2 separate regions of the Homo sapiens genome follow, and region 2 is linked to region 1. The links are contacts of gene promoters, found by promoter capture Hi-C in blood cells and fetal thymus (Javierre and others, 2016). All regions are on one chromosome and are shown on one strand. The core of a region is centred on a gene start or on the middle of the fragment in contact, and the rest is flanking DNA. Distances in the headings are between cores, read along the strand shown. Region 1 holds the start of SPESP1 (sperm equatorial segment protein 1). Region 2 overlaps CORO2B (coronin 2B).

The links. The method cuts DNA at HindIII sites, captures the fragments that hold promoters and counts their contacts. A CHiCAGO score of 5 or more calls a contact.
Region 2: a contact is called between a fragment that was not itself captured here and the fragment with the promoter of SPESP1 in region 1, in 2 of 17 cell types (naive B cells and fetal thymus). The highest score is 6.0, in naive B cells.

Annotation. Positions count from the first base shown.
Region 1 is chr15:68,926,683-68,932,659 of GRCh38, reverse strand. It overlaps SPESP1 (sperm equatorial segment protein 1), which reads right to left and starts at 2,135. Exons shown (of 2, transcript NM_145658.4): 1 at 1,943-2,135. The coding sequence starts at 2,006. SPESP1-NOX5 (SPESP1-NOX5 readthrough) reads right to left here and starts at 2,135. Exons shown (of 17, transcript NR_033672.2): 1 at 1,943-2,135. RefSeq lists a silencer at 5,259-5,459. The HindIII fragment of the contact is 10,282 bases long and covers 1-5,977 here.
Region 2 is chr15:68,677,826-68,683,590 of GRCh38, reverse strand. All of the region lies in intron 2 of CORO2B (coronin 2B), which reads right to left. Among named protein-coding and RNA genes, the nearest start is that of CORO2B, 100 kb to the right of the region's middle. The HindIII fragment of the contact is 166 bases long and covers 2,675-2,840 here.

The sequences.
Region 1 (5,977 bases), core at 886-3,385:
AGCACTTTGCAAGGCCGAGGCGGATGGATCATTTGAGGTCAGGAGCTCGAGACCAGCCTGGCCAACATGGTGAAACCCCGTCTCTACTAGAAATACAAAAATTAGCCAGGCGGTAGTGGCGTGCGCCTATAATCCCAGCTACTCAGGAGGCTGAGGTGGGAGAATCCCTCGAGCCTGGGAGGCAGAGGTTGCGGTGAGCCGAGATCGGGCCACTGCACTCTAGTCTGAGCTAGAGAGTGAGACCCTGTCTCAGGCAAAAAAAAAAGGGGGGGAAAAGGGAAGGGGAGGGGGAGGGGAAAATTATGGTGTTAGGCAAGAGACTGCACTGAGTTAAGTGGGTGTCCAGGGACTCCTACCTAGCAGTCCCAGAGTGTACTGTGTGACAGTGTTAAAGTCACTTCAGTTAAAGTCTCCATATATGTTAGTCACTTGTGACTTGCTGATCTACAACTACCAAAATGCAATAACTGGTGTTAGTAATAATGATCATCAGACATCAAGAAAAGATAGTAGCATCTTCATTATGTTCTGGTCCTCTATGTCAAGGAAGAAAAATTTTACAAAACTTTTTATTAAAAACAGCTACAAATCATAAATGCTAGTATTTAAAGAGCTAACTTTAGTTACCTAGAACTTCATCTAGAACTTTTCCCATTACTATTCATAATTTAGATTGTGTTGTATTTTCAGTTTTTAAATTTGATTTTTAACTAAGATCGTTTAGCAATTCTGAAAAATAGATTTGCATAATCAGCATGCACGATAGCGCTTTTTTTACACCTGTTAAATTGTATTTATTGATTTAAGTGAAACCAAACTCCAACATTACTAAATGCCACAATGAACTACAGTTAGACTAAATGGGGAAGCCTCACCTACCTGACTTAAATACTAAGTGCCTTAAGGTGCCCACATGATATTGTTAATATAGTAAAGTCTTAGCACCCCTGAATTTGACCTTATTGGTTTTCAGCTTTCGGGGAGGGACAAAAATTGCTCCTTGGCAGGTCTTAAGTTATAATCCTGCTTAACTAAGGCTTTGAATGCCGTGTGCGCAAGCATGCTCTCTGGGAGCGCATCCTCAGGTGAGTGTCCCAGACCGCGACCCACAATCCACATGCTCTCCAAATTTTACCGTACGGGTCAACCTTTTTTTCTGTACAGGGCCAGAGAGTAAATACTTCAGTCTTTGCAGACCAGACTGTGTGGCAACCACTTAACCCCGTTGTTCTAACGTGGGAAAGCAGCCATGGGCAATACGTAAAGGAATGAGCGTGGTGGTGTGCCAGTAAAACTTTATTCACGAACAATGAAATGTGAGCGTCATGCTTTTCCACAAGTCATGAAAGAGTACATTTCATATTTACTTTGAAAATGCAAAAATAGAACATCACACACCAGGGCCTGCCGTGGGGTGGGGGGAGGGGGGAGGGATAGCATTAGGAGATATACCTAATGTAAATGACAAGTTATGGGTGCAGCACACCAATATGGCACATGGATACATATGTAACAAACCTGCACGCTGTGCACATGTACCCTAGAACTTAAAGTATAATAATTAAAAAAAAAGGAAGAAAATGTAAAAATCATTCCTAGCTGGCCAGCAGCTGTCACACGACCCCTGCACGGTCACACGCCCAATGGCTGGGGAAGGATCGGGTGGGCAGAGGAAGGCCTCCGGTGAGGTGAGGGGGTTCCACCCGCGCCCACGGCCCGCAGGCGCTTCCCGTCTCATCTGGGCCGCGCCGCCTCAGTTGCTGCGTTCCCTGACCAGGAGAGGAGAGGGACACCCCTCGGCGTCGAGGCCAGGACCCCGGACAGTGGGGGAGGGAGGCATGTAGGACCAGGGAGAAGGAAGGGCCAGGCTTCGAGGTCGCGGAGCTCGGGAAGTTCCCCCAGGGTGTCCCCGGTCCGCTGCCTCCTCAGGCCCGTCACTCACTCGGATAAGCCGGCACAGACGAAGGCCATAGCAAAAGCGCAACTAGAAGGACTAAGGGCTTCATAGGCGTCGTCCGTAGCACTCTGCCATGCGACCGGAACGTCCTGGGGCCACCAGGCTGGGAACCTCAAGGCCGAAAGGGAAGGTGTCAGCGGAGTACCGTCCTGCCTCAGGCCCTGGGACACCCAGCAACGGTTGTCCCCAGCGCGCAAGCGCAGCGGCATGGGGGAGGGGAGAGCGAGCGGCCAAGGCCCGCCCCTCCTGGGACCGCGTGCAGGGGGCGGGGGATCGCGCGCGCCCCGCCCCGCCCCTTCCTAGTGCGCATGCTCGCTCCGCCTTCGTAGGTCCGCGCCTGGTGTGGGCTGGGAACGCCTCGACGCCCGGCTACTGCGTGCGGGGTGCTGCCTCGGGGCGTGCGGGGCTCGGCCCATCCTGCGCGGTAGGGATACCGCCGTGGTTTAAACGCGGTCCCTGTGAGGAAGGAACTGTAATGGGAGAGGCAGATAACCTGGCAATTACCACAGCGTGAAAGGGGGCTGTAGTGGGGGAAGCGCTAGGTACTGTTGTGCACAGTGGAAACCCACCCCCGGAAGCGGGTGGGGAGCTTGGCTAAGTGGAGGACAGCTTGGAGCACCCCAAGAACTGAGCATAGTTCCGGCGAGTTGCATTGTGGGGCTTGGGAGGGCAGTTGTTGGAGGACAGGGAGGAGAGGTAGGCAAGGGCATTAAAAACGCCCTAAGGGGCTTGGGTGTTTTTGTTTTTCAAAAGATCACATTCCATTTCTTTGACCTTCTTAAAAAGATAGGGGTAGGGATGAGGGAGAGTACGACTATGAAAGGATAGCATGAGGTTGTTTTGGGGACTAATAGATGGCAGTGGCCACAAGAATCTATACATGTGTTAAAATTCACAGAAGGCCGGGCACGGTGGCTCACTCCTGTAATCCCAGCACTTTGGGAGGCCGAGGTGGGCGGACCACCTGAGGTCAGGAGTTCGAGACCAGCCTGACCAACATAGTGAAACTTCGTGGCTACTAAAAATACAAAATTAGCCAGGCGTGGGTGGTGGCACACGCCTGTAGTCCCAGCTACTTGGGAGACTGAGGCAGGAGAATCACTTGAACCCGGGAAGCAGAGGTTGCAGTGAGCCGAGATCGTGCCACTGCACTCCAGCCTGGGCGACAGAGCAAGACTCCACCTCAAAAAAATAAATAAAAATAAAAATTCGCAGAACTGCACATCCCAAAGAATCTGTTTTTCTGTATGGTTATTTTTAAAAATTCACGTACACTCATCTCTGCCTCAGGAAGCAAGGGGCTTGGATTTTAGTCTGAGGCACCAGTACTAGAGTACTGCTAGGTTTTGAGCTGGGAACGGTTGTGATTAGATTTGTATTCCAGAAAACTCACTCTTCCTGTAGCATGAAGAATGGACTGGAGGGAAGCAAGACTAGAGGCGCCGGCGGAAACTGAGACTGCGCACGGCGCTTGCGGGCCAGCCCGAGTTCCGGGTGGGCGTGGGCTCGGCGGGCTCGGTGGGCCCGGCACTCAGCGCGGCCGGCCGTCCCCGCTGGCCACGGGCAGTTGGGGGGAGCTTAGCACCTGGGCCAGGAGCTGCTGTGCTCGATTTCTCGCCAGGCCTTAGCTGCCTCCCCGCAGGGCAGGGCTCGGGACCTGCAGCCTGCCATGCCTGAGCCTCCCTGAGGAGCGCCGCTCCCTGCTCCACGGCGCCCAGTCCCATCGACCGCCCAAGGGCTGAGGAGTGCGGGCGCAGGGCCGGGGACTGGCAGGCAGCTCCACCTGCGCCTGGGTGTGGGATCCACTGGGTGAAGCCAGCTGGGCTCCTGAGTCTGGTGGGGACTTGGAGAACCTTTATGTCTAGCTAAGGGATTGTGAATGCACCAATGGGCACTCTGTGTCTAGCTCAAGGTTTGTAAATGCACCAATCAGCACCCCGTGTCTAGCTAATCTAGTGGGGACTTGGAGAACTTTTGTGTCTAGCTCAGGGATTGTAAATGCACCAATCAGCACCCTGTCAAAACGGACCAATCAGCTCTCTGTAAAGTGAACCAATCAGCAGGATGTGGGTGGGGCCAGATAAGGGAATAAAAGCAGGCTGCCCGAGCCAGCAGTAGTAACCCTATGGAGTCTCTTTCTGTCGTGTGGAAGGTTTGTTCTTTCGCTTTTTGCAATAACTCTTGCTGCTGTTTACTCTGGGCCCACACTGCCTTTATAAGCTGTAACACTCGCTGCGAAGGTCTGCCGCTTCACTCCTGAAGCCAGTGAGACCACGAACCCACCGGGATGAATGAACAACTCAGATGGGCCACCATAAGAGCTGTAACACTCACCATGAGGGTCTACAGCTTCACTCCTGGTCCAGCTAGACCACGAATCCACCAGAAGGAAGAAACTCCAAACACATCCGAACATCAGAAGGAACAAATTCCGGACATGCTGCCTTTAAGAACTGTGACACTCACCACGAGGATCCACGGCTTCATTCTTTAAGTTAGACCAAGAACCCACCAATTCCGGACACATGTTGAGGAACCAATGTCTCCAGCCAACAGCCAGTAAGGACCTGAGGCCTGACAACAATCAGGTGAGTGAACTTGGTAATAGATTCTCCCCAGGTGAGCCTGGAGTTGACCACAGCCCGGCTGACATCTTGATTGTAGCTGCCTGAGAAACCCAGAGATGGAGGCACCCAGCTAAGCCACGCTTAGATTCCTGACTCACAGAAACTGTAAGACAGTAAGTGCTTGTTAAATGGAGGAGGAGAAAGCATTTGCGTAAGCAATAGCTACATACAAGGGTCTCTGTTGATTTGTTCCTTGAAAGAGACCATGCTTGGAAAGGCACCTGCAGTTGGGTACACTACTTAATTGAGTTAATAATTGTCAGTCATTCTTCCAGGTCCATCTGTTTTCATTACCAGTCAAGCTGGAAGGCAGGTATAAATTAAGATAATTGATTCAGATATTTTAGGGTGACACTATAGCTAGTCAACAAGGGATTGTTATAACTTGTGCATTACTATTTTGATTGGGGGTTGGAGAGTGTAATAAAGCTCTGTGGATTCTTCATAGTCTTTTCTATCTTGCTCACCCTTGTTCTAAAGGTTAGGAAACCAATGTGAAGATTCTGCCTTATGTCCTTTAAATGTACACTCAGGAATTGGGGAAAAAACACTGGAAGGGTTTAGGGTTCCATCGAACTTACTGTAAGGTGGACTTGGGTTAAAATTCCTTTAATTACTTCACCCCTGTAAACCCCACTCTAACCAGTGAACTACTGTGGCATACTGCGATTTTCCTTTTTTTTCAGTGCATATTTATCCCTAGATGATCACTGGTCCCTTTGGAGAAGGCTAGGAGTTAAGAATCACAGCACATACTTATCTCATTGTATTACTACTGAATTCGTCAAGGGTTTCCTGCTTTCCCTTCACTTAGGAGACTGGATTTGTGAAACACACTGCAGTTTGGGGATTGAATGAGGAACTGCAAGTGAGAGGTTCAAGTAGGATGTCTTTTAGGCCCAGAGTTGGAGTCGTTTTTCCCTTGTTTGGTTATAAAAACCCCAATAAGACTTTAGCAGTTTTCATCTTGTTAACCATTAAAAAGGAAACGGTGAAATAGCCAAGGTATATCCTAATTGTGGAATTCCAGTTTAAAAAAAAAAATGTTGTAGCTCTGTACTCCATGGTCTATGTGCTAACATATAAAATTCTCTAAAATATGGTGTTGAGTAAAAAAGTTCAGAAAAACACATATATCCACTTATGCAAAATTACACCAGTTACATATTTCCATGAATTCATCTGAAATCATTCTGGAAGGAAACACAGTAAGCTGATAATAGTGCTTACTTCCAGAAAGAGAAATGAGATTGGAGGAGAACAGGGGATTTTGAAGGGAGAATTTTGCTTTTTACTTTTTCTTATCCCTTGAATTTTTTGAAGCAAGATTACTCATGTAATTAAAAATAGAAACAGTAACTTTTTACAAAATCTAGTGAAGAAAGGAGGGCTA
Region 2 (5,765 bases), core at 1,508-4,007, 250 kb after region 1:
CAATATCCTACAGTGGGGGGAGGGGTGGTGCACCAAAACTGTAACTGTTGGAAATGCGAGCAGTGGCAAAAAAAAGTTACATGACAGCATCTATGCAAATTGTGGAAAAAGCACATTTCTGGTTTAGGCAGAAAATCAAAAGAAAAGGACAGTGCTTGCACCATCTCGAGGCTGTCATCACTAGCATTGGCTTTCTCCTCCCCCGCCACAGAGCCATGCTCTCCAAGCAGGTGGGAGTGCTGGGGACGCGGGGTCTGGACCAACAAGAGAGTCAGCTCTGGGGTCTTCAGTATCTTCCCATGGCTGGACCCCAAACAGGCCTTCGTCCTTCAGGCTCCCCACCAGAGGCCTTCCTGAACATCAGGAACCCCTCCCTAGAGGAATCTATCCCAACTGGGGGTGGCCTAGAGAGAGATATAGGCATGGAGGACCCTGGGCGGGTGGAGCTCCGTCAAGGTCAGGAGCAGGTTCCTAAGTCTGCCCTTCGCTTTTTGGCCCAGAGGCCTGGGTTTCTGCCATACCAGGGGCCCTCTCAATAGAGGACCCACCAGAACTTCTCCTGTGTGCATGGGCCGCTGCCAAAATTATAAAAACCCCTCCTTCTGTTCGCCATTTGGCCCAAGGAACGAGGAGGGAAAAGAGGACTCTCCCACCAGGTGCCCTTCCTGTAACACCCCAATTCCACACACCTCTCCTGTAGTGTGAAAGGAAACTCATTTTGAGTTGTGATTTTTGCCCAGCCCACCTGGGATTTGGGGAGCATTACTAAAGCACTGCTACAGCAGCAGGGCAGCACTCTGGGATTCAGGGGACCTGGGTTTTCATCTCAGCTCTGCTGCACACTGGCTGAGTGGCCTGAATCTCTGTCTCTCTAGGTCTCAGTCTCTCCCTCCGAAAAGTGAGGCATTTTTGGGGGGCAGGGATAATAAACATGGTATCCTTGCCCCTCCTGGGGTTTCTCTATCTATAACAGGCATTACCAATCGCTCACTGAGTCCTGCCTGAGCCCAGCAGTCCTCAGCACAGCATCTAGGGAGTCCCTACCAGTCGATCAGAGAATGTCAATCTGCGGCCATGTGATCTCTTAGAGCCCTGACAGCTGTAAACATCCTGAGCCCCTTGCTAAGCCTCTGAGACTCCCTGTACCTCTCTGTAGTCAGAGAGGATTCCCAGAGGCCTCTGATGGGTTAATCCCCACAAACGCCTTTACATCTGCTCCTTCCTCTCCAGGTGCACCCTGCCCATAGCCTTCCTGAGGCACTCCAGTCTTCTAATTGGTCTCCACGGTGCTGGTCTCTTCTCGAACTCCAGAGCAAGATTGGCTTTCTATAATTATTACTTTCCTTGTGCAACTCTTCCAGAATCTTCCATGGCATACATAACTATCTGCAGGATTTTTTGGCAGTTGGGCATCCAAGCCCCCTTCCTGATTTGGAGGACTCTCCCTCTGTGGGCTGTCCTGGTGGGATGCAGTGCCCTACCATGAAAGCTGAAGCAGGGGTTCCTCCTACCCAGGGTCCTCTGCTATCCAGGGACGGGGCATGGGACTGGGTTTGGCCAATCAGACTCCTACCCAGGGTGGGCTGGGACTGGGCCCTCCGGAGCTGTCTTGGTGCTGATCTGGTTCCAAGTCTGGCTCTCCACTGTCCCAGCTCTAGCCCTTTAAATCTATGAAGCCCCTAAACCCTTTCTGCATAAGAGGACTGGGGTTGGGGGTGATTTCTGTTGCTAGCAACAGATAACTACATCTGTGTTATCTCTGCTCCTCAACAATGTCTCCGCTTTTCAGAGACAGAAACTGAGACCTAGAGACAGAGATTTGGGCCACTCAGCCAGTGTGCAGCAGGAATCCTGACTTAGTCAGCTCCCCTTTCTCTGTCTTATCAGATCTGACTTACCTGCCTGGCCCTCGAGGGGCACGCACACCCTGTTCCCACCCCCAACTGCCCTCTAACCTTATTCTTTGGTTTGCTCAACCCTACAGGGGTCACACTTCTCAAGTGTGACAGACCCAATTTTAAATGTGATGTCTCAGGTCCTATGAAAATGGTGATTATCTCCCCCAATCCCAATATTTGGATGACCACCTTTTCCCAGACTTCTTCTCTGACAGAAACACAGAACTTCTCTGCCAGATCATGGGTGTCCTAACCCTTGGTTTGGGAAAATATGGCCCCCAAATCAGGGGGCTCCTCACTGGCCCCCTCCCTGCATTCCTTGTGACACGGTCTTTAGAAAGGCCTGCTCCTCTGGGCTTCTGCACCCCTCAAGAGACGCCCCAACTCCTGCTCCCACTGAGACGATTTAGTGCACTTCACATCTTGTGGTCTTCCTTTTCCCTCAGCTTTTCTTTCCAAAAAAAAATTTTTTTTTGAGATGGAGGGAGATCTTGCTCTCTCGCCCAGGCTAGAGTGCAATGGCACGATCTCAGCTCACTGCAACCTCCTCCTTCTGGGTTCAAGCGATTCTCCTGCCTCAGGTTCGCGAGTAGCTGGGATTACAGGCACCTGCCATCATGCCCGGCTAATTTTTGTATTTTTGTAGAGACAGGGTTTCACCATGTTGGCCAGGCTGGTCTAGAACTCTTGACCTCAGGCGATCTGCCTACCTCAGCCTCCCAAAGTGCTGGTATTACAGGCGTGAGCCACCGCGCCCGGCCCCTTTTCCCTAAGCTTTTCTAAGCCCTTCTTCCCACAGCATTTGTGATCATGCTGGCTGTCATTTACTGAGGGCTTCCCATGGGTCAGACCTGAAGCCAAGTGTTATTTCAATTTTTTAGCACAATAACCTTACGAAGTACAGGTCATTGTGTCCATTTTGCAGATGAGGAAACTGAAGCTTAGTGAGATTAACTAACACAGCGGCAAAGCCAGGATGCAACCCTTAGTCTTTCTGACCTTCAAATTAGAATGTAAGCTCCATGCAGGGTGGTGCTCTGTCTTGTCCTCTGCTATAACCCCAGTGTCTGGAATCGTGCTGGACACAAATGGTAAGCTCTCACCAAATTGTGTTGAATTAATGATGCCATAGACGGTGGACCTAATCAGGATCCCCTGTACAGTTGCATGGACTGTACACTGCACAACTCAAGGGGGTACCATTTGCATGGTGCAGAGCCTTCTGTTGTGCTCTGGGCCTAACCATGACACTGTCCTGCTTCTCCATTTAGCATTGTCTTGCGTTGTTTGCTTTATTTCACGGGTGTTTGTTGCCCTCCCAAGAGATTATCCACACTTTCATCTTAAATGAGATAATCATGGAGGGTTTCCAGCAGAGTGTGAGACATGAATGAAACCTCAGTGGTACAGACATGCTTCTTACACCCTCTGGTCTCAAACACAATGCCAGTCTATATTCAGGATCAAATGACTCCCCCAGCCACATGCTGCCAGCTGCAAAGATACTGTTGTCATTGAAGTGGGAGTGAGTCACATGGCACCATCCACATGCTCCCAGGCTGGGCCACTCTGCCTTGCCTCTTAGGGATAGCCACCGAGAGAACCGCCATCCACCAAGAGCGTGCACACTCTGCGGGGGCCCAGTGCCCACCATCTTCCCTGCCCAGACACCATAGAGACTCAGCCCTGGGCCATCACTGTCCCCATGGAAGTCATGGAATCTGTGGGCAGGGCAGGGGACCTCTGGCTCAGAACTTCAGCCTTGCTCCATCAGGGATATGTAAGGGGCCAGAGAAGGAGATGCACCACCTCCGAGGTAATGACCCTGGGAATCTATGGCCTTGAAAATGTCCTTTACATTGTAAGTGAACAGCCCCATGCTGAGATGACCAGTCCCTCCCCATCCCAAGCTTTCTCTCTGCTGCATCTGTGGAGGTTGGTTGATCCTCAGGGGCTGGGGTAGTGGGAGAAGGAACATATTGCACTCCGAACCCCTAGAAGTCAGGGTCTACTTTGGCTCAGCTCACGCTAATGACTGACTGAGCAAGTTCCTTCCTCCCAGGGCTTCAGTTTCCACATGAGCCAATAAATACAAACTCACTGGGCACGGGGCCTGGCACCACAGAAGCACTCGATAAATGGTAGTTATTATTATCATCTGCAAAATGCAGGTTAGCTTCCTCCCTCTGCCTCTGTGCTCTGCACAGCCCCTCGGACCAGACCCTCCTTTGTACTGTGCTTAATGGCTGTCATGGCTGTCACCCTCACCAAGGGTGAGCTTTCCATGGGTGGGGTATGTGTCTAACCCATCTTTGTACAGGCCTAGCATGGCCAGCTGCCCCGGTGCATGTGCTCAGAAAGTGTCTGCACAGTGGACCTGAACCATCAGGGCCCTTCCAGCTCTGCCAGTCTGGGGTTATATGTTGAATCTCCACCCAGCTCACCAAACACAGACAAGAACCCTCCCTGGGCCTGGAGCTGGCCACCTAGAGATGAATAAGATGGGATGATTCCCTTGGATGTCACTTCCACCACATTCTGTCTGTTTTAGTCACTACTGTATCCCAACACCCAGCACGGTGCCAGGCCCATAGTAGAGTCTCAATAAATATCTACTGAACTCATCCACGAGTGAGAAGCAGGTGATATTTCTGGGAAGGCCCTCACTCTGCCTGACCAGCTCGGAGGGCCAGGTCAGGGACTGGGTCCTACTGTCAAGCCAAGTTGGGCTGCTGGAGGGGCAGGGAGGGGAACACACCCTGAGTACAGCGGTCCCCTGGCCTCTAGCCAGATCCACTATCTGTCCAGTAACCTGGGGCTACATTTTCTACTCTAGTTCTTCCCTATCTGAGCACTGGAGGACCGGCAATGAAGGCTGGAGTTTGGGTGTGTGGTGCCTGAGTTTGGGGCTCCCAGGGGACATGGTGTGGGCAGCTCTTCTGAGCCTGGTGCTGGCTATGCCACCTGCTGATCCCTGGACACGCTCAGCTGCCTTCTTTTGTTTTCTTTTTTCTTTTTTGAAGTGGAGTCTCGCTCTTTTGCCCAGGCTGGAGTACAGTGGCACAATCTCAGCTCACTGCAACCTCTGTCTCCTGGGTTCAAATGATTCTCCTGCCTCAGTCCACTGAGTAGCTGGGATAACAGGCACCCACCACCTCACCTGGCTAATTTTTGTATTTTTAGTAGAGATGGGGTTTCACCATGTTGGCCAGGCTGGTCTTGAACTCCTGACCTCAGGTGATCTGCCCAAGTCGGCCTCCCAAAGTGTTGGGATTACAGGTGTGAACCACCGCCTGCTGTCTTTTCTCTGTTATTGCCCGACAGGCCTGGGGCACCCTTCTGGGGGCTCAGTGTGAGGGAGGGGAGAAAGGGCTCACACTGACACAGAAATTGGGGAATTCCTCCTCCTCCTCCCCCTGCTCTTACTATGGAGTGCTAGGCTGTTCTGCCTGACTCCTTCTCTGACAACAGGACCTGGGTCTGCTGTCCTCCCAGACTCAGTGGGAAAGGTCCTAACCCCGCCAGTGTTGTAGGAACAGCCAGCAGCCAGTGGCACGGGTGCTGTACAAGTCATCTGGGGGGAAAGTCAAGTGCATGTTAGGCCTTTGTCAGGAAGCAACAGACCTTGCAGGGGAAAGGAGAGCTCCTGTTAATTATGGAGGGGCAAGGCAGCCTCCTGGGCCAGGGGGCTGGGCCCCACCAGGCCTCCGAGAGGCAGGAGATTTTCATGAAATAACAGGAAACCCTCAATCCAGCCAACGTTCATGTTTTTCCATGGCTGCAGAGAGCCTGTGGCTGGCTGAACCAGGGGATCAGGACCTGTTCTTGACACAGTAGAGGGGACTTGGCCACCCAGCTATGGTGAAG